Regions from separate parts of the Homo sapiens genome. Here regions 1, 2, 3, 4, 6 and 7 are each linked to region 5. Evidence: promoter capture Hi-C in 16 types of primary human blood cells and fetal thymus (Javierre and others, 2016). All regions are on one chromosome and are shown on one strand. Each heading gives the region's core, a stretch centred on a gene start or on the middle of the fragment in contact. The rest is flanking DNA. Distances are from core to core; before and after follow the strand shown. Region 1 overlaps NUP210L (nucleoporin 210 like). Region 2 overlaps TPM3 (tropomyosin 3). Region 3 holds the start of NUP210L (nucleoporin 210 like). Region 4 has its middle 4.0 kb from the start of PGLYRP4. Region 5 holds the start of NPR1 (natriuretic peptide receptor 1). Region 6 overlaps NUP210L (nucleoporin 210 like). Region 7 overlaps NUP210L (nucleoporin 210 like).

The links. The method cuts DNA at HindIII sites, captures the fragments that hold promoters and counts their contacts. A CHiCAGO score of 5 or more calls a contact.
Region 1: a fragment that was not itself captured here is called in contact with the fragment with the promoter of NPR1 in region 5 in 2 of 17 cell types (neutrophils and M1 macrophages); the score reaches 5.1 in neutrophils.
Region 2: a fragment that was not itself captured here is called in contact with the fragment with the promoter of NPR1 in region 5 in 6 of 17 cell types (M0 macrophages, total B cells, naive B cells and 3 more); the score reaches 11.2 in M0 macrophages.
Region 3: the fragment with the promoter of NUP210L here is called in contact with the fragment with the promoter of NPR1 in region 5 in 1 of 17 cell types (M2 macrophages); the score reaches 5.9 in M2 macrophages.
Region 4: a contact is called between a fragment that was not itself captured here and the fragment with the promoter of NPR1 in region 5, in 1 of 17 cell types (erythroblasts). The highest score is 5.3, in erythroblasts.
Region 6: a fragment that was not itself captured here is called in contact with the fragment with the promoter of NPR1 in region 5 in 1 of 17 cell types (naive B cells); the score reaches 6.3 in naive B cells.
Region 7: a fragment that was not itself captured here is called in contact with the fragment with the promoter of NPR1 in region 5 in 3 of 17 cell types (neutrophils, naive CD8 T cells and M2 macrophages); the score reaches 5.9 in neutrophils.

What each region holds. Positions count from the first base shown.
Region 1 is chr1:154,021,263-154,024,817 of GRCh38, reverse strand. NUP210L (nucleoporin 210 like) reads left to right here. Exons shown (of 40, transcript NM_207308.3): 31 at 1,521-1,696; 32 at 2,475-2,692. Among named protein-coding and RNA genes, the nearest start is that of RPS27, 32 kb to the right of the region's middle. The HindIII fragment of the contact is 2,345 bases long and covers 295-2,639 here.
Region 2 is chr1:154,177,389-154,180,878 of GRCh38, reverse strand. The region is part of intron 2 of TPM3 (tropomyosin 3); the gene reads left to right. Among named protein-coding and RNA genes, the nearest start is that of TPM3, 13 kb to the left of the region's middle. RefSeq lists an enhancer at 1-686. The HindIII fragment of the contact is 2,058 bases long and covers 406-2,463 here.
Region 3 is chr1:154,153,364-154,157,035 of GRCh38, reverse strand. It overlaps NUP210L (nucleoporin 210 like), which reads left to right and starts at 1,963. Exons shown (of 40, transcript NM_207308.3): 1 at 1,963-2,194. The coding sequence starts at 1,992. It also overlaps a transcript of TPM3 not described here. RefSeq lists a silencer at 845-1,022 and enhancers at 1,629-2,129, 2,130-2,630. The HindIII fragment of the contact is 10,459 bases long and covers 1-3,672 here.
Region 4 is chr1:153,351,117-153,354,530 of GRCh38, reverse strand. No RefSeq gene overlaps it. Among named protein-coding and RNA genes, the nearest start is that of PGLYRP4, 4.0 kb to the right of the region's middle. RefSeq lists silencers at 731-780, 1,806-1,855. The HindIII fragment of the contact is 417 bases long and covers 1,225-1,641 here.
Region 5 is chr1:153,676,856-153,680,435 of GRCh38, reverse strand. NPR1 (natriuretic peptide receptor 1) reads right to left here and starts at 1,748. Exons shown (of 22, transcript NM_000906.4): 1 at 607-1,748. The coding sequence starts at 1,327. RefSeq lists a silencer at 948-1,007 and enhancers at 549-1,529, 1,530-2,511. The HindIII fragment of the contact is 5,247 bases long and covers 1-3,580 here.
Region 6 is chr1:154,135,266-154,138,956 of GRCh38, reverse strand. NUP210L (nucleoporin 210 like) reads left to right here. Exons shown (of 40, transcript NM_207308.3): 6 at 719-851; 7 at 2,985-3,143. Among named protein-coding and RNA genes, the nearest start is that of NUP210L, 18 kb to the left of the region's middle. The HindIII fragment of the contact is 1,223 bases long and covers 645-1,867 here.
Region 7 is chr1:154,004,023-154,007,650 of GRCh38, reverse strand. The region is part of intron 35 of NUP210L (nucleoporin 210 like); the gene reads left to right. Among named protein-coding and RNA genes, the nearest start is that of RPS27, 15 kb to the right of the region's middle. RefSeq lists a silencer at 191-452. The HindIII fragment of the contact is 5,364 bases long and covers 1-3,628 here.

The DNA of each region.
Region 1 (3,555 bases), core at 218-2,717, 340 kb before region 5:
ACTCACGCCTGTAAGCCCAGCACTTTGGAAGGCTGAGGCAGGAGAATCACTTGAGGCCAAGAGTTTAAGACCAGCCTGAGCAACATAATGAGACCCCTATCTCTACAAAAAATGAAAAAAAAAAAAAAATAGCCGGGCTTGGTGGCACATGTCTGCAGTCCTAGCTGCTTGGGAGGCTGAGGTGGAGGATCACACGAACCTAGGAGTTCGAGGCTGCTTTGTGCTGCAATTGAACTGCTGCACTGCAGCCTGGAAAACAAAGCAACAATCTGTTTCTTTTTAAAAAATTAAGCTTTGCTACAAGAATTAAAAAATTGAGAAAAGACCTCAGAGATAAGTTAGTCTTAACACGAAAAAAAATTTTAGACATTAAACATCTACTATATACTATGTTCGTCATTGTATGTATATTATCTCTTTTAACTACCACAAAAGCCCTATGAGGTAGGCATTATTATCCCCATCTAACTGTTAACTGATAAGAAACCTGAGACCCAGAAAAGTTACATGAGGCTATGAAATGATAAAGCTATGATTCAAACGCGGGCTTCACTTACTGTATCACAGCTCTCTTACAGTGTGAAAACACAATATAGATTGTGTTCCTGATAAGTAATTGATTATTTAACCATAAATATTGAGCACTCTGCATGAAATGGATGAATTATAGTCCTTTCCTCATAAAGCTCCAGCTTCTCTTCACATTCCCACAGCTTTAAAAATTAAAAACCTGGCTGGGCACAGTGGCTCACGCCAATCCCAGCACTTTGGGAGGCCGAGCCGGGTGGATCACGAGGTCAGGAGTTCAAGACCAACCTGGCCAAGATGGTGAAACCCCCATCTCTACTAAAAATACAAAAAAATTAGCCGGGCATTGTGGCGGGCGCCTGTAATCTCAGCTACTCAGGAGGCTGAGGCAGAGAATTGCTTGAACCCAGGAGGCGGAGGTTGCAGTAAGTTGAGATTGCACCACTGCACTCCAGCCTGGGCGAGACAGCAAAATTCCGTCTCAAAAAAAAAAAAATTAAAAACCCATTTCAAGCCGGGCACAGTGGCTCACGCCTATAATTCCAACACTTTGGGAGGCCAAGGCGGGCAGATCACTTGAGGTCAGGAGTTTGAGACCAGCCTGGCCAACATGGTGAAACCCCATCTCTACTAAGAATAGAAAAATTAACCAGGCGTGGTGGCAGATGCCTGTAATCACAGCTACCTGGGAGGCTGAGGTAGGAGAATTGCTTGAATGCAGGAGGCAGAGGTTGCAGTGAGTCAAAATCATGCCGCTGCACTCCAGCCTGGGTGACAGAGTGAGATTCTGTCTCAAAAAAAAAAGAAAAGAATTTCCTATGCTGCTATGCTGTCATATTTCTTTTCACTCTGACTTAAGTCATCTCACATCAAAAGCTATTTCCTATGGAAAAGAAACATCACTCTTTATCATTGATTATAAGTCTCAGAATATGGTTGCAGCACTTCTCCAGTGCATCTTTCTCTGTACCAGTAGGTTTTGTCTCCCACAGGTAGCACCGGTGACATACCTGCGAGTGAGCAGCCAACCCAAGCTATACACAGCCCAAGGAAGGACCCTGTCAGCATTTCCCTTGGGCATGTCTCTTACCTTCACTGTTCAGTTTTATAATAGTATCGGAGAGAAATTCCACACACACAATACCCAGCTTTATCTGGCTCTGAACAGGTATGGAAGTCAAAGGAATGGTATTGACACTATGGTAGAAATCTTGCATATTAGGCTAGTATTATATAGCAGCTCCAGTAAATTCCTCTCACATTCTGAATTTGGAAGTTGATCTTTCTTTTGTTAAAAAAAATTTTTTTAAGTGAGGCCAGGTGGGTGGCTCACACCTGTAACCTCAGCACTTTGGGAGGCTGAGGAGGGAGGATCACTTGGGCCCAGGAGTTCGAGACCAGCCTGGACAACATGGTGAAACCCCATCTCTACAAAAATACAAAAATTAGCTGGGTGTGGTAGCGTGTGCCTGTAGTCCCAGCTACTAGGGAGGCTGAGGTGGGAGGATCACTTGAGCCCAGGAGGCAGAGGTTGCAGTGAGCAGAGATTGCGCCACTGCACCCCAGCCTGGGTGACCAATTAAGACTGTCTTAAAAAAAAAAAAAAAAAAAAAAGACCAGACTTAGGCAATGGTATTAGTTGTCACTTAAGAAAAAATGCAGGATATCTTAAATCTGTCAAGTTCTAATTCACTAAAAGATCCATAGGGAGCTAACTGGAGTATTATTATCAAAAGGCTTTACTGGAAAAAAAAAAAAGCCTTCCTGGGAACTATACGTATGAAGGTAATAGACTGATCCTTGGCCCATACTTACTTACTCTTTATTGTGGAATTCCTTCTGAACTTCTGAGCTGTTGAATATAAAATGTGGTAGGGTGTTCTCCAGAACTATTTTCTAACTATTGTCTCTTTTTAAAGATTTCTACCTTTAATGTCTACTTGCAGAGATGACTTGCTGCATATTGGACCAGGGAATAAGAACTATACTTACATGGCCCAGGCTGTGAACAGAGGGCTGACACTTGTGGGGCTTTGGGACCGGAGACATCCAGGCATGGCAGATTATATTCCTGTTGCTGTAGAGCATGCCATTGAGCCAGACACCAAGCTTACCTTTGTTGGAGATATCATCTGCTTCAGTACTCACCTTGTCAGCCAGCATGGTATGTATACATTCCCTTTCTCAAACTTACAATTGATAGTTGTGGGGATTAAAAAGCAGTTATTAAAAAAAAAAGCAGTTATTAATCCCTTGGACTGGTATAGTGGTTTATACCCATAATCTCAGCCCTTTGGGAGGCCAAGCTGGAGAGGTCACTTAAGGCCAGAAGTTCAAGAAAGCAATTAATCCCCTAGAATATTTTTTTCCAAATTATCTAAAATCTGAGGGACTCTCTGAGAAAGAAAATAATTTTGAGTATTTTATTATTTGTAATGTTACTGATAATTTTTAGCTTAATGCCTGTTTCACTCAATAGCCAGCCAATTAGAAGCCAGCCAGTAATATTGATCAAGAGTCTATTGGATACATAGCTCTATTTTATATTATGTAGATAGTGCAGGGTACTGTGTCTTCTCCTCCATTCCCAGCTTTTGAAGGAGGGTAATTACTATATTGAAGGACAGTAAAGGATAACAGGAAGGAAAGGGCAATAAGGCTTTAGTTCTAAGAACTAGTTATGTGTATGCTATTTTGTGAGGCACATTTGAAGGCCTAAGTCCTAACATATCATCATTGTAATAAGGTTTTTTCTTTTACCCGGATAAACTATACTTTGTTTTGTTTTTTTTTTTAGAGACAGAGTCTCACTCTGTCATTCAGGCTGGAGGGCAGTGGGCAGTGACATGATCTCTGCTCACTGCAACCTCTGACTCCTGGGTTCAAGCGAGTCTCCTGCCTTAGCCTCCCAAGTAGCTGGGACTACAGGCACACAACACCACGCCTGGCTAATTTTTATATTTTTTATACAAGGGGTTGGCCCCTGGCCAACTATACTCTTGAAAACAAAGCATTTCTGTCCTAAGT
Region 2 (3,490 bases), core at 185-2,684, 500 kb before region 5:
ATCTCTGCTCACTGCAACCTCCACCTCCCAGGCTCAAGTGATTCTCCTGCCTTAGCCTCCTGAGTGGCTGGGATTACAGGCATCCACCACCACACTCGGCGATTTTTTTTTATTATTTTATTTTTTTATTTTTAGTAGAGATGGGGTTTCACCATGTTGGCCAGGCTGGTTTCAAACTCCTGACCTCAAGTGATCTGCCTGCCTCAGCCTCCCAAAGTGCTGAGATTACAGGCATGAGCCACTGCGCCTGTCCTGGGGTGATGTTTCTTAAGCTACTTTCACTCAGAGCCTGCCAAATTTGCTTATTGAGCTGAGGTCTAGTGAGGAAGTCCTCAGAATGGGGAAGTAGAGTTATAGTTAAATATTGATGAAATCATTTCTTCTACTCCCCAGCCTGAAGAAGCTTAATCTTTTGACTTTCTGCTGCTCTGCTGAACTTTGAACCCCTACTGAGGAGGAGACACCTGTGGGAAGGGAGGGGGGTTGCTTGGGCTACCTGTTATCCTCTTAAGGCATTCTGGAATGTGGGTTTTGCAGACTCCTCCCTCCTCTGGAGCGGGAAACTGCACTCTCTGATGGTATCTCATGCTGTTAGTGGGATTGTCACTTAATTATTTTCCTGGTTACTTTGTGTGAACATCCAAGCCACCCTTGTTGGGAAGCTAGATGAGTCTAAAACTGAGACACTGGTGTTCTAGGATCCATCTTTCTTTTCTGCTCTCGGCCTGGAAATTGGTCTTTTATAATGTAGCACCTTGTCAAATTTACTTTCAGTTCTGTATTTCCTTTTTACTTCTGTCTAAATGGAAACAGATGGCAACATAATGTTTAAATGCAGTCTTTTTCCTTATCTCTTTTTTTTTGTGGTAGTGGTGATAAAAATACATGTAAAATTTACCATTTTAACCATTTATAAATGTACAGTTCACCTTATCTGTTTTTAATAACTCTCTCCTAATTGTCCCTGATATTTTTCTCTTTTTAATTTTTTTCTAGTCTAAAAAACTTAAGAGGCTGGGTGCGGTGGCTCACACCTGTAATCCCAGCCCTTTGGGAGGCCTAGGCGGGTGGATCTGAGGTCCACCTGTGGATCTGATGAAACCCCATCTCTACTAAAAATACAAAAAATTAGCTGGGCATGGTGGCGCATGCCTGTAATCCCAGCTACTTGGGAGGCTGAGGCACAAGAATTGCTTCAACCCTGGAGGCGGAGGTGGCAGTGAACCAGGATTGGATCATGCCACTGTACTCCAGCCTGGGCGAGTATCGGCACTGGGGGAGTGAGGGGTCAACTGCGGGAGTGTAAGGTCAGCACACTACCTCTGCCTCAAAAAGAAAAAAAAAAGTAATAACAAAAACCTTAAGAGTACTACCGAGGGAGTGGGCTTTGATTCTGGCCTTAATCCTAAATTCCTAGTCTCTGGAGAGGTTAGAATGCTTGACTGTTGTGTGGTTCTCTTCTATTCGTGGGCCTGGTGGACTAAGCAACCTTTCTTTGGTTGCTTTGCTTTCCTTTCTCTTTCCCCAGTACTAGAACACACACTCACAGGGGAGAGGCAGATAGCCCTTTACCCCTGCTTAGGCTCCGCCTTTGTTTACTGTGGGGCAGATAGCTCTACTCCCTTCCAACTTGCCTCCCCTTTGGTGAAGTTTAAATTCCCCAAGGACACGGTATCTCCCTGGGTAATGCATTTGTGAGCACAGTGAACTCAAATAGTCCTTTACTCACAGGGCTCAAGCCTAACTTTCTGATACTCTTTCATTTGAATTTTATCTGTGGCTTTTATCTAATAAGAGAAACCCCAGTGTGGCAGAAAGCCAGATTTAGGCTAATCCCCTTCTGTCCTTGGCCCTGTTCTGCCTGAGAGTACCATCACACTGTCAGTTTCTTGCCTGGAGGGGTTGACATATTTGGGAAATCTCTTTGGAGTGGAGGATAGCCGAAGGTGTTGTCAGCCATCTGGTAATGTGACTGAGTTGCTGGGGCATTCTACTCTTTCCCCAATCCCTCACCCAGGATCTTTGCTTCCTGGGCAGTGGAGAATCCTATTATTACTTGAAGGGAAGAACCACAGAGTACTGTATATCCTCCACACTGGGCAGAGATAGGTCAGCTGAAACACCAAAACCGCATCTGGATGGGCATGCTAAAACCTAAGATGATTAGGAAAGTGCAGAGCTTAACGTTTCCCAGGGCCACAGGTAGCCTGGTCTGCAAAAAGTAGGCCTGTTCAATCTCTTGGTACCCATTGGTATTATTTGACCTGAAAGGGACAGGCACTGTGCATAGACTCATGAGGGAAAAGTCAGCTTGTCTTCCTTGTTCCTTTAAACAAAGTATCAGATCTTGATTCTGCAGGCTTTTGTTTCATTGTAAAGAGAACTGATCCTCTGTGCTAGGAGAAAAGAGAAAGGCAAGGTCCCATTCCCTACCACTCCACCCTGGAGGGGGTCTCTGAAGCTTTTTCTAGGACTCCCATCTCAGGTTCTGCTTTTGATACAGGCTTGTTCATGTGTGCATGCTCTTAGGAGGGCACCAAGATGTGTTTTCCCCCTCTCCCTTTTCAGCCTTGCTAAGAATTCTATTGTAAATGCTGATTTGTGGGAGAAACTGCCTGAGCCAGCTTGCTGTCATGGCAACTGTACACCCCCGCCCCATAGCCTGTTATCTTCTACTCCAGTTTGGGTAACTACTGGTGAGCTGCATGATGTCTTACATTTCATGAGCTTCCTCTAAATCTAGTTGTATTTTTCGTCTGAGGGGGGTAAGTCATTTTACTAGCAGTGTCTCCTAGGTCTTGCCTGATAGCCTGACTTGCTCTTGATCCATGGCCTTGTTGGGTTTGTGAGGAGAAATGTGTGTTGTTACAGAGAACATCTATTTTTCTGGAAGAGGCAGAAGCAGAGAATACTTGTCTTTGTGGTGTTTTGAGTAGTGTAGTTAGAGGCACAAATGGTTTCTTAATGATTTCAGCTTATGTTGACTTCTCGATTTTCTTTGCCTGGTGGCTAGATTGTAGCCCCAGCCCTCTGCTTCCCTTCCTAGTCTCTTCAGCTTCTCATGTTTGTATGTGGAAGTTTTTGTGCCAGTCCTGATGGTTAAAAAGGAGTCTTTTGGTCTATATTCTTCCTCATCGGAGCTAGTGGCCCAGGCTGTTTCTATAGCTGCACCAACTCCTGCCTGCCAGGAAGAAATCAGGGTAATAGAATTCAGGCACAATCTGGGCTATAGAAGAGAGATCGTGTTTACCAGGCACTTGGATAAGCATCTGAACTGGGTGGTGTGCGGGGCATATTAAATTCTTGTATACTGTTGCAGTCAGGGTACCTCCCACCAGTAAAGGTAGCGGGGAGGCAGTCATGGAAAGAGGTTTTCCTACCATTAGAATTTATCCATCCACCTGCAGGCTGCCTCCTTCTTTCCTTGTTTCTTAGAGAAAACCCATCCAGGATGGGTTTACTTGGACTCTAACCTATATACTTCATTGTG
Region 3 (3,672 bases), core at 714-3,213, 480 kb before region 5:
AAGATATCTTTGGATAATGTTATTTCTATTTTTTATTTTTTTCATTAGAAGTTACCAAATTAAGATGGTAAGACCTCTGAGACCAAAATTTTGTCCCATCTCTACCCCCTCACAACTGCTTACAGAATGGATCATGTCCCCCTTATGTTGAGGTGACCACTTAATTGCTTTCCTGCCTCCTTGAAAGAAAGAAAGAAAGAAGACTGTGTTTTTGCCACTGATTTAGCCATGTGAAACTCATCTCATTACCCTTTTCTGGGTTTGAAGCTGCTGTCTCTAGAAGTGCCATCTCAATTGTGCTTTGTATCAGTCAGTGCTGGAGAAATCTTGAATAGCTTATGTACAAAACTTTTTAAATTTTATATTATTTTGAAACTTTGCTTTGGGTTTGTGGCACCCTGGCCACCCCATCTGGCTGTGACAGCCTCTGCAGTCCGTGGGCTGGCAGTTTGTTGATCTTTTAAGTTTCCTTCCCTACCCAGTCCCCATTTTCTGGTAAGGTTTCTAGGAGGTCTGTTAGGTGTACATCCTGCAGCTTATTGGCTTAAAATGTACTCTCCTTTTATGTGGTCTCTTTGGGGCCGATTGGGAGAAAGAGAAATCAATAGTGCAACTGTTTTGATACTGAATATTGACAAGTGTCTTTTTGAAATAAAGAACCAGTCCCTCCAACCCTCAGACCTATTTGACTTTTATTTATTAAAACTAAATGTGCTTTCTCCACAGAAGCTATGAGGTTTGGGTTAAAAATAGCATCTTTGTGGGTGGTAGCAACAGGATTTATTCTTTATTATTATTATTTTTGAGATGAAGTTTCATTCTTGTTGCCTGGGCTGGAGCGTAATGGCTCGATCTCGGCTCACTGCAACCTCCGCCTCCTGGTTCAAGAGATTCTCCTGCCTCAGCCTCCCGAGTAGCTGGGATTACAGGCACCTGCCACCATGCCCGGGTAATTTTTTATATTTTAAGTAGAGACAGGGCTTCACCATGTTGGCCAGGCTGGTCTCGAACTCCTGACCTTCAGGTGATCCACCTGCCTCAGCTTCCCAAAATGCTGGGATTACGGGCGTGAGCCACCGCACCCAGCTGGAGCAACAGGATTTAATATAGAGCAAATGTTTAGTTTTATCATCTGTAAAATGGAGATAAGTATTGTCAGAGTAAACATGAAGATTAGAAAGAACACTTAATGTGCTGGGCCTTTTATAGGTTAACACTGACATCTCAGGCTGAACTATATACATTTTCCTTCACAACCATATCAATCCTTATAAACTATGGATTTATGCTCCTTAAAACAATATATAATGCTGATCACTACTATAAATGCGTGGTTTTAACCAACTGTACTGAAACAGCTTTGAGTTTATATTCTGTTTGGATATTTGGAGAAAACAACAAGTGCTCTCAAGAGTATTTGCTTAGAGGCCGGCTGTGTGAGTGGATAACTTTGAAAGCTGCTTTTGAGACGCCAGTGTCTGGCATTTCCTGCATTCTGGCCTGGAGGCCGGACGTGAATCTGACTTCTAGTAAAAATACACGGTTCCCTTGACAAAGTCGAGCTGTTTATCCCAGAGACTGCACAATTTTCCGTTGATAGGCATGGACCAATGCTAACTGGAAATCATTGCAAAAAGTTTTTTTGTCGGGCGGAGGGTGTGGTGTTAAGATAAACAGTGTGCAACAGAAGAAATTAAAACTGGAAGAAATTAAAGGGTTTTTTTTAGACTTTTCTGCTTGTTCCTTACTGTTAAAAAGGTCTGCCATCCAGTATTTAGGAAAGCCCTTTAAGAGAGTTTGAGGTGTTTTAGCTGGGTTTGTGCCAAAAGTTTCCATTATATTGGCTTGCTGAAGGACTGCATTTAAAAATGCCCACACATCCGAGCAAGAAGCAGGTCCCATCCCCCTCTGCTGACGTCACGCCTGTGGATTGGCTGATGGAGCTGTGAGCCGGCTGTAGTTGAGCGGGAACCCGAGACCTGGCAGTCGCCATGACTGGCTGTCCGGCGTCATCAAGACGCCGAGGCTTCGGGCTCTTTTTCTTCTTGCGTCTACACCGCCTCCTGTTGTTGTTTCTGGTTTTGCGTGGGACCCTGGCCAACAAACTTAACGTGCCACAGGTGTTGCTACCCTTCGGCCGAGAGCCAGGCCGGGTGCCTTTCCTGCTGGAGGCCCAGCGGGGCTGCTACACTTGGTGAGGGGTGGTGGGTGACAAGGATATGCACCCTCACTACCATCCAGTAAGGGTGAGGGGGGTTCCCTCTGTAAGATCCCACAGGAATACCGTGTGGGGCCGCGTGAAGGGGCCTAGCCGGTAGGGGAGGAGAGTGTGGTGTCAGTGAAGGTGGCGAGGAGCAGACCCTTGGGTGTGGCGTGTCCTACTCATGTGGTATATCCTCCAGCTGTGTGACAATCTTCCAGACGTGTGAGGAATTCTCGGGATGTGGGACTGGCCTCTTCTCTGTGTGTGTTGGGAAGGGGTGGTCACTATGAGCAGCCGTCAGGGTAAAGGGAAGCCCTGTGTTGGAGGCCACAGGTACTGATGACTTCCAATGTAAACAACTAGAGTAAGAGGAAGTTCCCCATATCTGAGGAAATTTCTGTAGGAACAGGAAAACTTGGGGTGCGAGGGTCCCCACTAACTATAGATGAGCTATTCAATGTGAGAAGGACTTAAAACACAACAGCCAAGTATTGGGGGTTAACTAAGCACTTTACATGTGTTAACTCATTCGCTTTTTGCAGTCTTATGAAGTAAGTACTATTACTCCCATTTCACAGACGAGGAAAGTGAGGCCCAGAGACTATGAAGTGTAAACTTCTGGGAATATGAGAAGATTTATCGTGGGTGGAGATGAGATCTGTCTGTATTATCAAAATTGCCCCATTTATAAAAGGGTACCCGCTTGAAGTGTGAGGACAGGGGGTACACACAACTCCGGGATAATGACTTCCTGACTGAAGATGAAGAGACATGATTTTCTGGTGTGAGAGGACCCAATGATGGGTTATGTGGTTGCCTAAGGTATGAGAGAACCTAACCGAAGTGAGCTTCAGGATGCCAGTGCATTCATCCTAGATGGAGTAGATACCCCTTTGCCATCTCCTAGGAGAAGCAATGAGGTTTGTTCCGAGTATAAATTCACCTCTCATTTTATGAGGAAGTATAAGGAAAGTGAGCTTGTAAGATGATCCAGTGTGACGTGTGTGTTTCCTGACCGTGAGGGTGATGCAAGGCATCTTTCCAGCATTGAAAGCCATTTCTTCTATCACTCCAAAAATATTAATGAGGCCAGGCATGGTGGCTCACGCCTGTAATCCCAGCACTTTGGGAGGCCAAGGCAGGAGGATTACTTGAGGCCAGGAGTTTGAGACCAGCCGGATCAACATAGTGAGACCCCGTCTCTATTTAAAATAAAAACATTCGGCCGGGCGCAGTGGCTCACGCCTGTAATCCCAGCACTTTGGGAGGCCGGGGCAGGCAGATCACTTGAAGTCAGGAGTTCAAGACCAGCCTGGCCAACATGATGAAAGCCCATCCCTACTAAAAATACAAAAATTAGTCGGGCATAGTGGCAGACACCTGTAATCTCAGCTACTCGAGAGGCTGAGGCAGGAGAATCGCTTGAACCCTGGAGGCGAATGTTGCAGTGAGCTGAGATCGCCCTGCTG
Region 4 (3,414 bases), core at 184-2,683, 330 kb after region 5:
TGTGGCTTTTTGGGTTAAAAAACAAATAAGTGGCCGGGCACGGTGGCTCACGCCTGTAATCCCAGCACTTTGGGAGCACGAGGCGGGTGGATCACAAGGTCAGGAGTTCGAGACTAGCATGGCCAACATGGTGAAACCTCCATCTTTACTAAAGATACAAAAAATTAGCCGGGTGTGGTGGTGCGCACCTGTAATCCCAGCTACTCAGGAGGCTGAGGTAGGAGAACCGCTTGAACCTGGGAGGCAGAGGTTGCAGTGAGCCAAGATCGCGCCATTGCACTCTGGCCTGGGTGGCAGGGTGAGACTCCATTTCAAACAAACAAACAACCAAGCAAGTAAACAAACAAGCAGGCAGAGGTTCCTGCAGCTACCATCAAATCACTGTGCTCTTTCCCAGATGCCTGGGACCCACTGCGGGTCTGTCTTTCCCTTCTCTGCAGCTCCCACTGTGGTCTTTCAGGGAGCTTTACCCCTCCTGTGTTGTAATGGGGGTGTTACAGCAGGCACACAGTGGGACCCGGACTGAGGGACTGAGCTGGTTTTAGTCCTTAGCTTTCTCAGACTTGCTGGTGGTCTTTAGAAGTGATTTCCATGTTCGGGCCTCCATTTTCTTATCCATTACATGAGGAGATTGGGACAGCTGACCCTTAGGTCATTTCTAGCACAGATTCCAAGTTTTGATGGACTCTTGGTGGGCTTCATGACTACTACTAGCCTCATGGCCCCTGGACACTGTCTCCTGGCTTACTTGCTCCACCTGCAGGTGAAGTCAGGTCCCTCTCCTCACAGGGACTCTGATGCCTGAGGCCCAGCCCCACTCAGGCTGCGCACAGCCTGCTGCCTATTCCTCCACTCCCTGTCTTCCTCCTTGCTGGGAGTCCCAAGTGCTCTTCCTTGGAGATCTCTGGGTACGGGTCTCCTAACCACAAGCGCCCTAACATCCCCCATTTCCCCAGTGCTCATTCTAGACTCTAGTGCATTAGGATGACTTACAGAAGCTATCCACGGGTAGCTTCAGACCATTGTTCTACCACGTTTGGGCTCAGTCCACATCAAGCTTTGACCACCCCTGGCATCCTTGTGGCCTCCCTTGACTGGCCATCCTGAGGTCTCTGAGGCCCTCTGCTGAGAGCAGCCGCACTCCCTGCCCCCATGCTGGGCTGCTCCAGCATCCACAGTGAGGACCCTCCAATGATCTGGCTTCTTAGACATTCAACCTAAGCTTCCCCAAGTCTGGACCTCTCCCCCTGTCTCCACCTTGGCTGCCTCTGCTCATCATCCTCCTAATTTCTCAGACATGCCACCTTCAAAATTGAGAAAGCTGGCATTCCCTTTTGTTGCCTGGCTTCTGTTGCTCCAACCCTTTCTCCTCCCCGATCTCTTGGGAACCTGGCTTTTGCGCTCACTATGTCCCTAGGTTCCAGATCTCTGCAGAAATTTTTGGCGAGTATCTCAGCATCTGGCTTTTGGCATCCTCTGCTCTCAGGACTCCCTTTGAAGTCCACAGCCCTTTGTAAAGAATAAAGGGTTTTCACACTCAGCAGGCATTATAATCACTGGCGTTTGGATCTGTCTCCCTCATTATATTATTAACTACTTGAGAGCAGTGTTCTCAATGTACTCATCCCTGGATGATAAGCTTTGCATATGAGTGACACCTGACAAATGTTTGCAGAATAAAATGAATGACTGGCTTGGTTTGGCCAGAACTTATGCTTAGGAGATGGCTATGCCCTGTAATTATGAAGGCGTTGGTGGATAAAGCTAGTTAGAAAAAAAAAAGACGTGCCACACAGAAGCATGAAGGTAAGGAAGGAAGTGGAAGGGAGTGATGGATAAAAGAGGTTGCTCAGAGACTCCTAGTGAGTGAAAGGTGACTCCGGAGTTATCAGAGGGCGCATGCTGCCACCTTGTGGCCTATCTGCATCAGGACAGCCTGTGGGATTCCTTTGGCCCCAGGTTTTTAATCTTTTTGCTCTCTGGACCCTTTTATATGTATTCATAGAAGTTATTGAGTATCCCAAAGAGCTTTTGTGGATTAGATGTATCAGTATTTACTACATTAAAAGTTTAAAAAATTTAAAATGATTTATTAACTCACTTAAAGTACCATTAATAAACACATTACGTATTACCACGTTTTTAAACAATTAAAAATAATTATATATATATGTCAAAAGCTAGTGAGAAGAGTGTTTTTTTTTCACATTTTTGCAGACCTTTTTACTGTATGGCTTCAAAGAAGACAGCTGGTTTATCACATCTACTTCTGCATACAAGGTATTGCTGTATGTTGCTTTGGTTGAAGATTTGAAGAAAATCCAATCTCCCACAGATAAGTAGTTGCAAAGGGGATGAATACATTAATAGCCTTTAAATATATAATTGTGGATATTCTTCTCTCATATTACATCAAAACCCAACAAGTGATGGTTTCTCAAAGGTTAGTTGCAACGTAAAGTCTGAAACCATATCAATGAATTATTTGTTCTCTGTTACATTAGAATCAATTGGTCCCTCTTAAAATTTAATGGATCTTTTATCCAAACTTTGTGACTTCATATATTGATCATTTGGAAAATATTGGTTGACTGAGTTATGTACGTCTTCTAAATGCTGACATCATTTATTACTCTCTATATATACATATTTATATATATCACACACACATATAAATAAACCACATTTGGCCGGGCGTGGTGGCTCACGCCTGTAATCCCAGCACTTTGGGAGGCTGAGGCGGGCAGATCATGAGGTCAGGAGATCGAGACCATCCTGGCTAACACTATGAAACACCATCTCTACTAAAAATACAAAAAATTAGCCATGTGTGGTAGCACATGCCTGTAGTCTCAGCTACTTGGGACACTGAGGCAGGAGAATCACTTGAACCCGGGAGGCAGAGGTTGCAGCGAGCAGAGATCATGCCACTGAATTCCAGCCTGGGCGACAGAGATAGATTCCGTCTCAAAAACAAACAAAACAAAACAAAACAAAAAAAGCAAAAAAGCCCCACCACATTTGTTAATATCACCACTGATCCTGTCAGTAGTCTTCAAATATTGGGAAGCTGTCAAACTCATGGTGGCAGACACAAATTTTCCAAAATTCAAATTTTTGACTGAAAGCTCCAATTTTATTATGCTAACAAATTGTAGTTGTTTTCCCGGAAGTGAAAGGCTCACTTTGTTAATTTTCAAGAAAATGTATGCCGCATACCCAAATATGAGTATCCATAGTTTGGCTATCATTTGTTCTATGTTATTTGTTCACGGCGTCCATGAAAAGTGGCTGGTTCAGCTCACAACTGTAGCACACAAATGCTTTTCCTTGAGAGAATCAGGGTTGAGATTTAATAAAATGAGTAATTTTCACTGCTTCATCAAAAACATTCCTAAGTGAGCCTCCTTTTCT
Region 5 (3,580 bases), core at 499-2,998:
CTGGGGCACCCAAGGGAGGAAGTTTAGAGATAGGGTGCAGGAGAGACCCAGTGAGAGTTAAGTGGTAACTCCCGGCTCAGCCTAGGCCACAGCAGGAGAAAGTCGAAGGGTGGAACGGGCGGGTGCGGGGCGGTGGGCGGGAGGAGGAAGGGGGAGGCGGAAGGGAGGAAGGAACGGGTAGGGAGAGGGGGATAGTGGAGCTGAAGGTGGAGAAGGATGGGGCCAGGAGGGAGAGAGGAGGGAGAGGGAGGGGGAGAAGAGAGGGGATGAGGCGCAATGAGAGGAGAGGATGAAAGAAGGGAGAAGGCTATAGGGAAGAGAGAAAATGTGGGAGGGAAAAAGGGACCGGAACCGAGCTGTGCTAGGGTGGGAGGGAATGAGTGGGGGTCGGGGAGATGAGAGGATAGAGACGTGGTGGGGGTGGCGGAAGAAGAGAGGGAAATAGAAACTCAGCTGTAGAAAGGGCCAGGGAGCTGAAAGTAGAATGAAGAACGGCGAGGAGAAAGAAGAGTGCCCCCAGATGAGAGAGAAAGTCCCGATGCCTCCGGCAGGTCAGAGGGGAGGCCCTGCGGCTAAGCGGCGGGACGGGGTGTGCCAGCGTCTCACCTCGGCCTTTGCGCGGCATGGTCCGCAGCAGCCTGGTGTAGTGGCTGAGGTCGTCCTCGGCGAACTCCAGGTGGTCCACCGTAATATTGAGGCGGTCGCGGACCCGCATGAACAGCCCCTCCACGAGGAAGAAGCAGTGCTCTTCGTCACCCGGCCGGTAGGCGTAGAGCATGAGCGCTTGGCGCTCCCAGCCCAGCCGTCGGTGCAGCGCCGCCACGAAGTCCCCCAGCTTGGCGTAGCTGGGCCCCGCGCGGGTGGTCAGCGCATACTCGTCCTTGACACCGAAGCCCAGCGCCGGGGCGCCGGCGGTCAGCAGCGGGACCCGCCAGTGCGCGGTGAAGCGCCCCACTGGGGCGGCGGCGTACACGCAGCCGGGGCCCAGGAACACAGCGGGGTTGTGCTCCCACTTGAGGTCCACCGCGGCCAGGGGCGCTGCGGTGTCGGAGCAGACGCCCAGCGCGTTTTCGCTGCTGCCCAGCACCGTGCGGACCGTCCAGCCCGGCAGCAAGTCGGGGCGCGCCTTCACCTGGGCCAGGGCCAGCTCCACGGCGGGTCCCACGCGCGCCCACGACCAGGGGTACGAGGTATTGGCCAGCGGCAGTACCACGGCTACCGTCAGGTTGCCCGCGTGGCTGCCCCGGAGCAGCAGCAGCAGCGGCGGCAGCAGCAGGAGCAGGAGCAGGCGCAGGCGGGAGCCAGCGGGGCGCCGGGGCCCCGGCATGGCCTCAGCGGGCACCGCAGCAGGCGAGCGCTCCTACCATGGCCTCCTCGGTCCCCTTGGGCTCAGCGGCCGGTCCCAGGCATCAGGCGCGTCCCTATGGGAAGGAGCAGGAGCGGGACGGGGACGCTCACCCCGGGGCTCGAGGCCCCCTGTAGCTGCGACGGTCTGGGCCGAGAGCGCAAGGGGCGCGACCGAGGGGGGCGCGCAGGGCGCCGCGGAGCAGGTGGGTGCCAGGAGAACGTCGGGCTGGAGAGGACCCGAGTGTGAACAACTGGGAGTGTGCGTGCGTGTTAGAGAGAGAGAGAGAGAGAGAGAAAGGGTGCGAGTGAGCGCTTCGTGAAGAAGGATGAGAGAGGGCGCGCGAGGGAGGAAAGAGGAGTGTGTGTTTGTAGCGTGCGTGAGCGCCTGCCCCAGGGAGTGTGCCAGAAGGGGCGTCCGGCCGGCCCAAGTCTCCGGCTATCCGGAGGGAACCGTGGAGGACCCGAGCCAAGCTCCGAACCCTCCCTCCCAGCCGCTTCCCCTCCCAGACTCAGTGACAGAAGAGCCAATCCAGGATCTTTAACTCCTTCCTCCCCGCCGCCCAGCCCGCGCGCTTCCCCGTGGACCATCTTCCCCGGTCTCGGCCGCCCCACGCCTACCTCTTTGGAGGACAGGACCCTCTGAAGGTGCGCCCTCGCCGGGATGGAAAGGACGGCTGAACGGAGGGTGTGTGTGGAAGCAACCGGGGCCCACTTGCGCCCCACCTTTTCCCTCGCCTCCTACCTGGTCTCCTCGGGGGAAGAGGGAAAGGTGTGCTGGTTTGGGATCCTGGCAGGAAACTGAGTGAGTGCGTGGATGTGTGTGTTTGGGTGTGGGGTGGAAGGTGACGGGTTTCTGGAAAGTCCGTTAAAGTTGAAGGTGAGCCCAGAGTGCTTGTTACCCATTCCTTCTATGATCTCCCTCTCTTTCCCTCCCTGCCACCTTCCAGACTGTGCAGATTAGCTGTGAAAAAATGATCTGGTGTCAGAGAGGAATTAAATCTTTAGCGCCCAAATTGTAGGAAGATGGGGAGAGTGGGTGGGTGTCTGGGAGGGAGGAGGTTCACACCTCAGGGACGCCCCAAGAAAATGACTGTTTTGTGTTGAGGGTTGTTAAAATGAAGGCTGTGGGAGATGACCACTGGAGGCGTAAATTGGGGAGTGGGTTTTGGAGCACTTGACAGCTGGGCCCCCGGTGCAGACTGCTGTGGAATCAGTGTGCCCTCTAATGGTCATCGGGGGTTATTGACGGCATTGCAGCGCCAACCTCTCCAACGCTGCGCCTAAGCAGGACATAAGATCACCAAACTTCAGGTCAGCAAACATTTCCAGAGAACCTTCGGTGCATTAAGCACCCACTAGGTGCCGAGGGCATAAAGATGAATATATATAGTCCGTGCCTTTGAGGAGCTCCATTTGGGACAAATAACCGTAATGCAACATGCATTAAGCACTACAGGGGAGACATGGATAAATTGCTAAAGGACTCAGATGAGGGCTATTCATTCTGCTTGGATTGGGGCCAGAAAATCTCCAAAAAAGAAATAATTCAAGAGGATGGAAGGATGAGAAAGGTATTCTGTGTAGACAGAGCAGAATGTTGAAGTACATTTCCTATATATGGAATTTTAGGAGACTTGAATATTCTTATTATCTAGAGCAAATTGTGGTCGATAGGCCAACTTGAGATGGCAGGCATGCTTTGGCTTGCATTCTCTTTATGTATATTGTATTTAATTCCCCACACTTAAATATCATAAGATGGGGCCGGGCAAGGTGGCTCAAGCCTCTAATCCCAGCACTTTGGGAGGTCAGGGTGGGTGGATCATGAGGTCAGGAGTTCAAGATCAGCCTGGCCAAGATGGTGAAACCCCGTCTCTACTAAAAATACAAAAATTAGCCAGACATGGTGGCGGCCGCCTGTAATCCCAGCTACTTGGGAGGCTGAGGTAGAGAATTGCTTGAATCCGGGAGACAGAGGTTGCAACGAGCCGAGATTGCGCCACTGCACTCCAGCCTGGGCAACAGAGCAAGACTCCGTCTCAAAAAAAAAAAAAAAAAAAAGATGGTACATGAATATTTGGATTTCTGACTTTTTTTTTTTTTTCCTTCAAAGATGGAGGTCTCCCTATGTTGCCCAGGCTGGTCTTGAACTCCTAGGCTCAAGCGATCCTCTTGCATTGGCCTCCCAAAATTCCTGGATAACATGTGTGAGCCACCAGGCCCAACCTGGATT
Region 6 (3,691 bases), core at 7-2,506, 460 kb before region 5:
GCAGGAAGAATTTGTGTGCAAAAATTTATATTTTAAAGGATTTTCCCTAATATTTTACATTTCTCACTTATACCTAATTGATAGTATATATTAGCAGCTTGCCTTTAACTTTTTTTGACACATTTAAATTTTTAATAGAAATAACAGTTCTCTTTTCACATGTATAGTTTTTGTTTTAATGTGATTATAATTATAAGCACAACTTGCATAAATAGGTTTGGGAAAAACAAATGTTTTTTGGTAAGCATTTAATTCAATGGCAAGAACATGAGTGTGTGGACCTCCTAGAGAGAAGCCTACCAACCTTGCATTGGGTAAATCTTCATAAAAATCAATGTGTTCAACAGAGAGTGGAAAGTAACTTAATCTGGCAAGTCAGTTAATTGGAGGTTGGCTAAAAGAATTTCTGTGTTCTACAATTGAGTCTTACCTTTTCTCATTTCAGCATACTTGACTTTTTATTTACCTACTTTTTTTCTTTTAGAAGACTTTTTTGTTCTAAGTCTGAGTATCTTAGAAAGTTAATAAGGTATTAAGATTCATAATCACTTTTTAAGGCTAGCTGAAATTATGACTTGTGATTAGGAAAGCTTTTAAAAAAATCTTTATAAAAAATTTTAAAAGAAGTTTAAAAGAAGTAAGCTTTTAACAAGAAAGATGACTGTGAGGGTTCCGTCCATGGAAACTGTTTTTTTTTTTCCTTCCCTCCCTCTTTTAGAAAGTGGCAGCAGCCTTAATACGTCTGCTTGTTTTGGAGAATATATTTCTTATACCATCCCATGATATTTATCTCTTAGTAGGAACATATATTAAATACCAAGTTGCAAAAATGGTTCAAGGGAGAGTGACAGGTAAGGTGATTTATTTTTTCTCCTATGACTCACATTTCCCAAATCTTTTCTGCTGACAAGATCAGCAACTCCACATTACATATGAAAAATACTTGTGTTTTTAGATTTTGTGGTAAAGTGTTAATTGCTGTACTTAACTAATATTAGACAGAAATAGCCCCATATCTTGAACATATTAATGGCATAGTTAGGCTGCTTAGCTTCGGTGCCAATAGGCATCTGAATTCTCTATTAAAACAACAACTAGCCAGGCATGGTGGCTCTCGCTTGTAATTCCAGCTACTCTGGAAGCTGAGGCAGGAAGATTGCTTGAGGCCAGAAGTTGGAGACCAATCTAGGCAACAGAGCAAGATCCCCATATCTTTATTATTTTTTTATTTTTATTTTTTTGAGATGGGGGTCTCACTCTGTTGCCCAGGTTGTAGTACAGTGGCATGATCATGGCTCATTGCAACATTGAACTCCTGTGCTCAAGTGATCCTCCCACCTCAGCCTCCTGAATGGCTGGAACTACAGGTTCCTGCCACCATATCAAGCTCTTTTTTTTTTTTTTTCTAGATGTAGTCTCTCTCTGTCACCCAGGCTGGAGTGCAGTGGCATGATCTCGGCTCACTGCAACCTCCACCTCTGGGTTCAAGCAGTTCTCCTGCCTCAGCCTCCCGAGTAGCTGGGATTACAGGTGTGCACCACCATGCCCAGCTAATTTTTTGTATTTTTAGTAGAGACGGGGTTTCACCATGCTGGCCAGGCTGGTCTCAAACTCCTGGCCTCATGATCCATCTGCCTCAGCCTCCCAAAGTGCTGGGATTACAGGCGTGAGCCATCACTCCCGGCCTCTTTTTTTTGTTAGAAATGGGATCTCATTATGTTACCCAGGCTGGTCTTGAACTCCTTGTCCCAAGTGATTCTCCCACCTTGGCCTCCCTCCCAAAGGGCTGAGATTATAGGTGTGAGCTACTGTGCCAAGCTGAGACCTCATCTCTAAAAATAACTAAATAAATAAAACAATTAAAGCTTTACTAGCTTTTGAAGGGCAAGTTAAGACACTTTACCAGAAGGGACCTGAATGAGCATTGCAATGATCTTTGCAAAAGTTGTTTCTTGAGAAACTCAATTCATCGACTGAAAGCTTAATATTCTGTTGATACTAAAAGTTACATTGAGCTTTTTTTTTTTTTTTTTTTTTGAGATGGATTCTCACTCTGTCGCCCAGGCTGGAGTGCAGTGGCATGATCTCGGCTCACTGCAACCTCTGCCTCCCAGGTTCAAACGATTCTCCTGCCGCAGCCTCCCGAGTAGCTGGGATTACAGGAGCCCGCCACTACGCCCAGCTAATTTTTTGCATTTTTAGTAGAGATGGGGTTTCACCATGTTGCCCAGGCTGGTCTCGAACTCCTGACCTCGTGGTTCACCCACCTCGGCTTCCCACGGTGCTGGGATTACAGGCGTGAACCACCGCACCTGGCCTAAAAGTTACATTGAGCTTTTAAAGTATGTATTGGCTCCATTAACGTTAATCTTTTTCTTACTAATGATGACCCCTCCTGCTACTCAGTTCACTAGTTTTTAAGAATACAAGCAAAACCAATTCTTTCTTTCTCTCTCTCTCTGTATATATATATTTTTAATTTTTATTTATTTATTTATTTATTTTGAGACGGAGTTATGCTTTGTCGCCCAGGCTAGAGTGCAATGGTTTGATCTCAGCTCACTGCAACCTCCACCTCCCAGGTTCAAGCGATTCTCCTGCATCAGCCTCCCGAGTAGCTGGGATTACAGGCACACGCCATCACGCCCGGCTAATTTTGGTATTTTTAGTAGAGACGGGGTTTCACCATGTTGGCCAGGCTGGTCTCGAACTCCTAACTTCAGGTGATCCACCCGCCTTGGCCTCCCAAAGTGCTGGGATTACAGGCGGAGCCACCACACCCAGCCTCCAGCAATATATTTTAACTCATATACTCCCCCCAAATGGTTACATGTAGAAATTCATCATAGCAGGAAAAACATTAGAAGCAGATCATACTCTTATTTTATGTCTGCTTCCTGATCATTCCTTTATGATCAAGAATACATCATTATCTACTGGAATGGCTGCTGTCATTACATTTATGTATCTTTCATGTCTTACAGAGGTGAAATTTCCCCTGGAACATTATATACTGGAATTGCAAGACCATAGAGTTGCACTTAACGGGTCTCATTCTGAGAAAGTGGCTATACTGGATGACAAAACAGCCATGGTGACTGCCTCACAACTGGGCCAGACTAATCTTGTCTTTGTCCATAAAAGTATCCTTTTGTTCAAGTTTTAGCTGCCAGTCTACACTTCCTTGAGCATCCTAGACATGTTCTTTGGTAAAATAATTTATTAAGAATGATTATGGCCGGGCGCGGTGGCTCACGCCTGTAATTCCAGCACTTTGGGAGGCCGAGGCGGGCTGATCACAAGGTCAGGAGATCGAGACCATCCTGGCTAACACGGTGAAACCCTGACTCTACTAAAAATACTAAAAATTAGCCAGGCGTGGTGGCGGGCGCCTGTAGTCCCAGCTACTCGGGAGGCTGAGGCAGGAGAATGGTGTGAACCCGGGAGGCAGAGGTTGCAGTGAGCCAAAATCGTGCCACTGCACTCCAACCTGGGCGGCACAGCGAGACTCCGTCTCAAAAAAAAAAAAAAGATTATAATACTACTACAGTGTTTTCCTATAGGTTTTATTTTTAATAAAGAATTATAAGTTATTACTGTCATAATTTCTAGCAGAGTAAGTAGAGAAAAGGAGTATAGTTGGAACTTGGGATCTACTAACTTCAATGCTTATTTGCAACCTCAATCAAAT
Region 7 (3,628 bases), core at 820-3,319, 330 kb before region 5:
CAGTGAGCCGAGATCGCGCCACTGCACTCCAGCCTGGGCAACAGAGTGAGACTCTGTTTCAATAAATAAATAAATAGAAAAAATATATAGGCCAGGTGCGATGACTCACGCCTGTAATCCCAGCACTTTGGGAAGCTGAGGCGGGTGGATCACCTGAGGTCGGGAGTTCACGACCAGCCTCACCAACATGGAGAAACCTGGCCTCTACTAAAAATACAAAATTAGTCAGGCATGGTGGCACATGCCTGTAATCCCAGCTACTAGGGAGGCTGAGGCAGGAGAATCACTTGAACCCAGGAAGTGGAGGTTGCGGTGAGCCAAGATGGCACCATTGCACTCCAACCTGGGCAACAAGAGCGAAAATCTGTCTCAAAAAAAATATATATATAAGCCCGGCGCAGTAGCTAACGCCTGTAATCCACCATTTTGGGAGGCCGAGGGGGGCAGATCACTTGAGGTCAGGAGTTTGAGACCAGCCTGGCTAACATGGTGAAACTCCGTCTTTACTAAAAATACAAAAATTAGCCAGGCATGGTGGCGGGCGCCTGTAATCCCAGCTATTTGGGAGGCTGAGGCAGGAGAATCGATTGAAATAGAAGGAGGAGGTTATAGTGAGCCAAGATCATGCCATTGCACTCCAGCCTGGGTGAAAGAGCGAAACTCCATTTAAAAAAAAAAAAAAAATATATATATATATATATATACACACACACACACACACACAGACATATGTGTATATGTGTATATATATGTATATGTGTATACATATGTATGTGTGTGTATGTATATGTATATATTTATATATATACATATATATATATATATATATATATGGCATGGTAAGAAAGCAGAAAGAGGCCAGGCATGGTGGCTCACGCCTGTAATCCCAGCAGTTTGGGAGGCCGAGGCAGGCAGATCACCCGAGGTCAGGAGTTCGAGACCAGCCTGGCCAACATGGTGAAACCCCATCTCTACTAAAAAATACAAAAATTAGCCGGGCATGGTGGCACATGCCTGTAGTCCCAGCTACTCGGGAGGCTGAGGCAGGAGAATTGCTTGAACCCAGGAGGCGGAGGTTGCAGTGAGCCGAGATCGTGCCACTTCACTCCAGCCTGGGCGGTAAGAGTGAGACTCCATCTCAGAGAAATAAATAAATAAATAAAAATAAAGCAGAAAGAAAGGAGGAGTATCTATATGAAACCTAGAGCCAAATTAAGTAAGGTTTTACAGAGGGAATGACCTTTAGAAGTATGACTAAGAGTGAACTAGATGTGAAGAGAACAGGACATTCCAGGCAATATAGGGCCCTAGAGAAGTTTGTTTTAGTTTTGGTTTAGTTTGTTTTTTTTTCCAAAAATAAGATGAAATCACTTGGGCCCAGGAGGTTGAGGCTGCAGTGAGCCATGATAATGCTACTACACCCTAGCCTTGGTGACAGAGCAAGACTCTGTCTAAATAAATAAATGAATAAAATAAAAATGAAGGCAGTTTTTGGCCAGGTGCGGTGGCTCACGCCTGTAATCCCAACACTTTGGGAGGCTGAGGCAGGTGGATTACCTGAGGTTGGGAGTTCAAGACCAGCATGATCAACATGGAGAAACCCCATCTCTACTAAAAATACAAAATTAGGGCGGGGCGCGGTGGCTCATGCCTGTAATCCCAGCACTTTGGGAGACTGAGGTGGGCAGATTACCTGAGGTCGGGAGTTCGAGACCAGCCTTACCAATGTGGAGAAACCCGTCTCTACTAAAAATACAAAATTAGCCAGGTGTGATGGCGCATGCCTGTAATCCCAGCCACTCAGGAGGCTCAGGCAGGAGAATCACTTGAACCCGGGAGGCGGAGATTGCAGTGAGCTGAGATCACGCCATTGCACTCCAGCCTGGGCAACAAGAGCAAAACGCTGTCTCAAAAAAAAAAAAGAAAAAAAAATACAAAAATACAAAATTAGCCAGACGTGGTGTTGCATACCTGTAATCCCAGCTACTCGGGAGGCTGAGGCAGGAGAATCACTTGAACCCGGGAGGCAGAGGTTGTGGTGAGCTGAAATCACATCATTGCACTCCAGCCTAGGCAACAGGAGCAAAACTCCATCTCAAAAAACAAACAAACAAACAAACAAACACTGGGCGCGGTGGCTCACACCTGTAATCCAAGCACTTTGGGAGGCCAAGGCGGTGGATCACCTGAGGTCAGGAGTTCAAGACCAGCCTGGCCAACGTGGTGAAACCCCGAATCTACGAAAAATACAAAAATTAGCCAGGCCTGGTGGCTCACGCTACTTGGGTAGTCCCAGCTACTTGGGAGGCTGAGGCAGGAGAATTGCTTGAACCCAGGAGACGGAGGTTGCAGTGAGCTGAGATCACACCACTGCACTCCATTTTGCCTGGGCGACAGACAAGACTCCATCTCAAAAAAATAAATAAATAAATAAATAATGAAGGCAGTTTTTAAGGATTTAGTGGCAGTATGTAGAATGGATAAGAAAAAGAAAAGAGGAGGCCGGGCACGGTGGCTCATGCCTGTAATCCCAGCACTTTGGGAGGCCGAGGAGGGTGGATCACAAGGTCAGGAGTTGAGACCAGCCTGACCAACATGGTGAAACCCTGTCTCTACTAAAAATACAAAAACTAACTGGGCGTGGTGGCACACACCTGTAATCCCAGCTACTCAGGAGGCTGAGGCAGGAGAACTGCTTGAACCCAGGAGGTGGAGGTTGCAGTGAGCCAAAATTATGCCACTACACTCCAGCCTGGGCGATAGAGTGAGATTCCATCTCAAAAAAAAAAAAAAAAAGAAAGAAAGAAAGAAAAGAAAAGAAAAAAAGAAAAGAGGAATAGCCTGGCCACAGTGGCTCATGCCTGTAATCCCAGCTACTCAGGAGGCCAAGGTGGGGGAATCCCTTGAGCCCAAGAGTTCAAGGCTGCAGTGAGCCGTGATCACACCACTGCACTACAGCCTGGGCAACAGATGGAGAACCTGTCTCAAAGAAAGAAAAGAGGAATAACGGCAGGGCATGGTAATCCCAGCACTTTGGGAGGCTGAGGTGGGCAGATCATTTGAGGTCAGGAGTTCAAGACCAGCCTGGCCAACATGGTGAAACTCTGCCTCTACTAAAAATACAAAAATTAGTAGGGCACCTGTAATCCCAGCTACGTGGGAGGCTGAGGCAGGAGAATCACTTGAACCAGGGAGGCAGAGCTTGAAGTGAGCTGAGATCGCACCACTGCACTCCAGCCTGGGCGACAGAACGAGACTTCGTCTCAAAAGAAAAAAAAAGAAGGCCGGGCGCAGTGGCTCACGCCTGTAATCCTGGCATTTTGAGAGGCTGAGGCAGGTGGATCACGAGGTCAGGAGATCGAGACCATCTTGGCTAACATGGTGAAACCCCGTCTCTACTAAAAATACAAAAAAATTAGCCGGGCGTGGTGGTGGGCACCTGTAGTCCCAGCTACTCGGGAGGCTGAGGCAGAAGAATGGCGTGAACCCAGGAGGCGGAGTTTGCAGTGAGCCAAGATCGCGCCACTGCACTCCAGCCTGGGCAACAGAGTGAGACTCCATCTCAAAAAAAAAAACAAAAAACAGGCAAGGATACCTGTGAAGGGGCAATAATGCAAGCATGAATTGA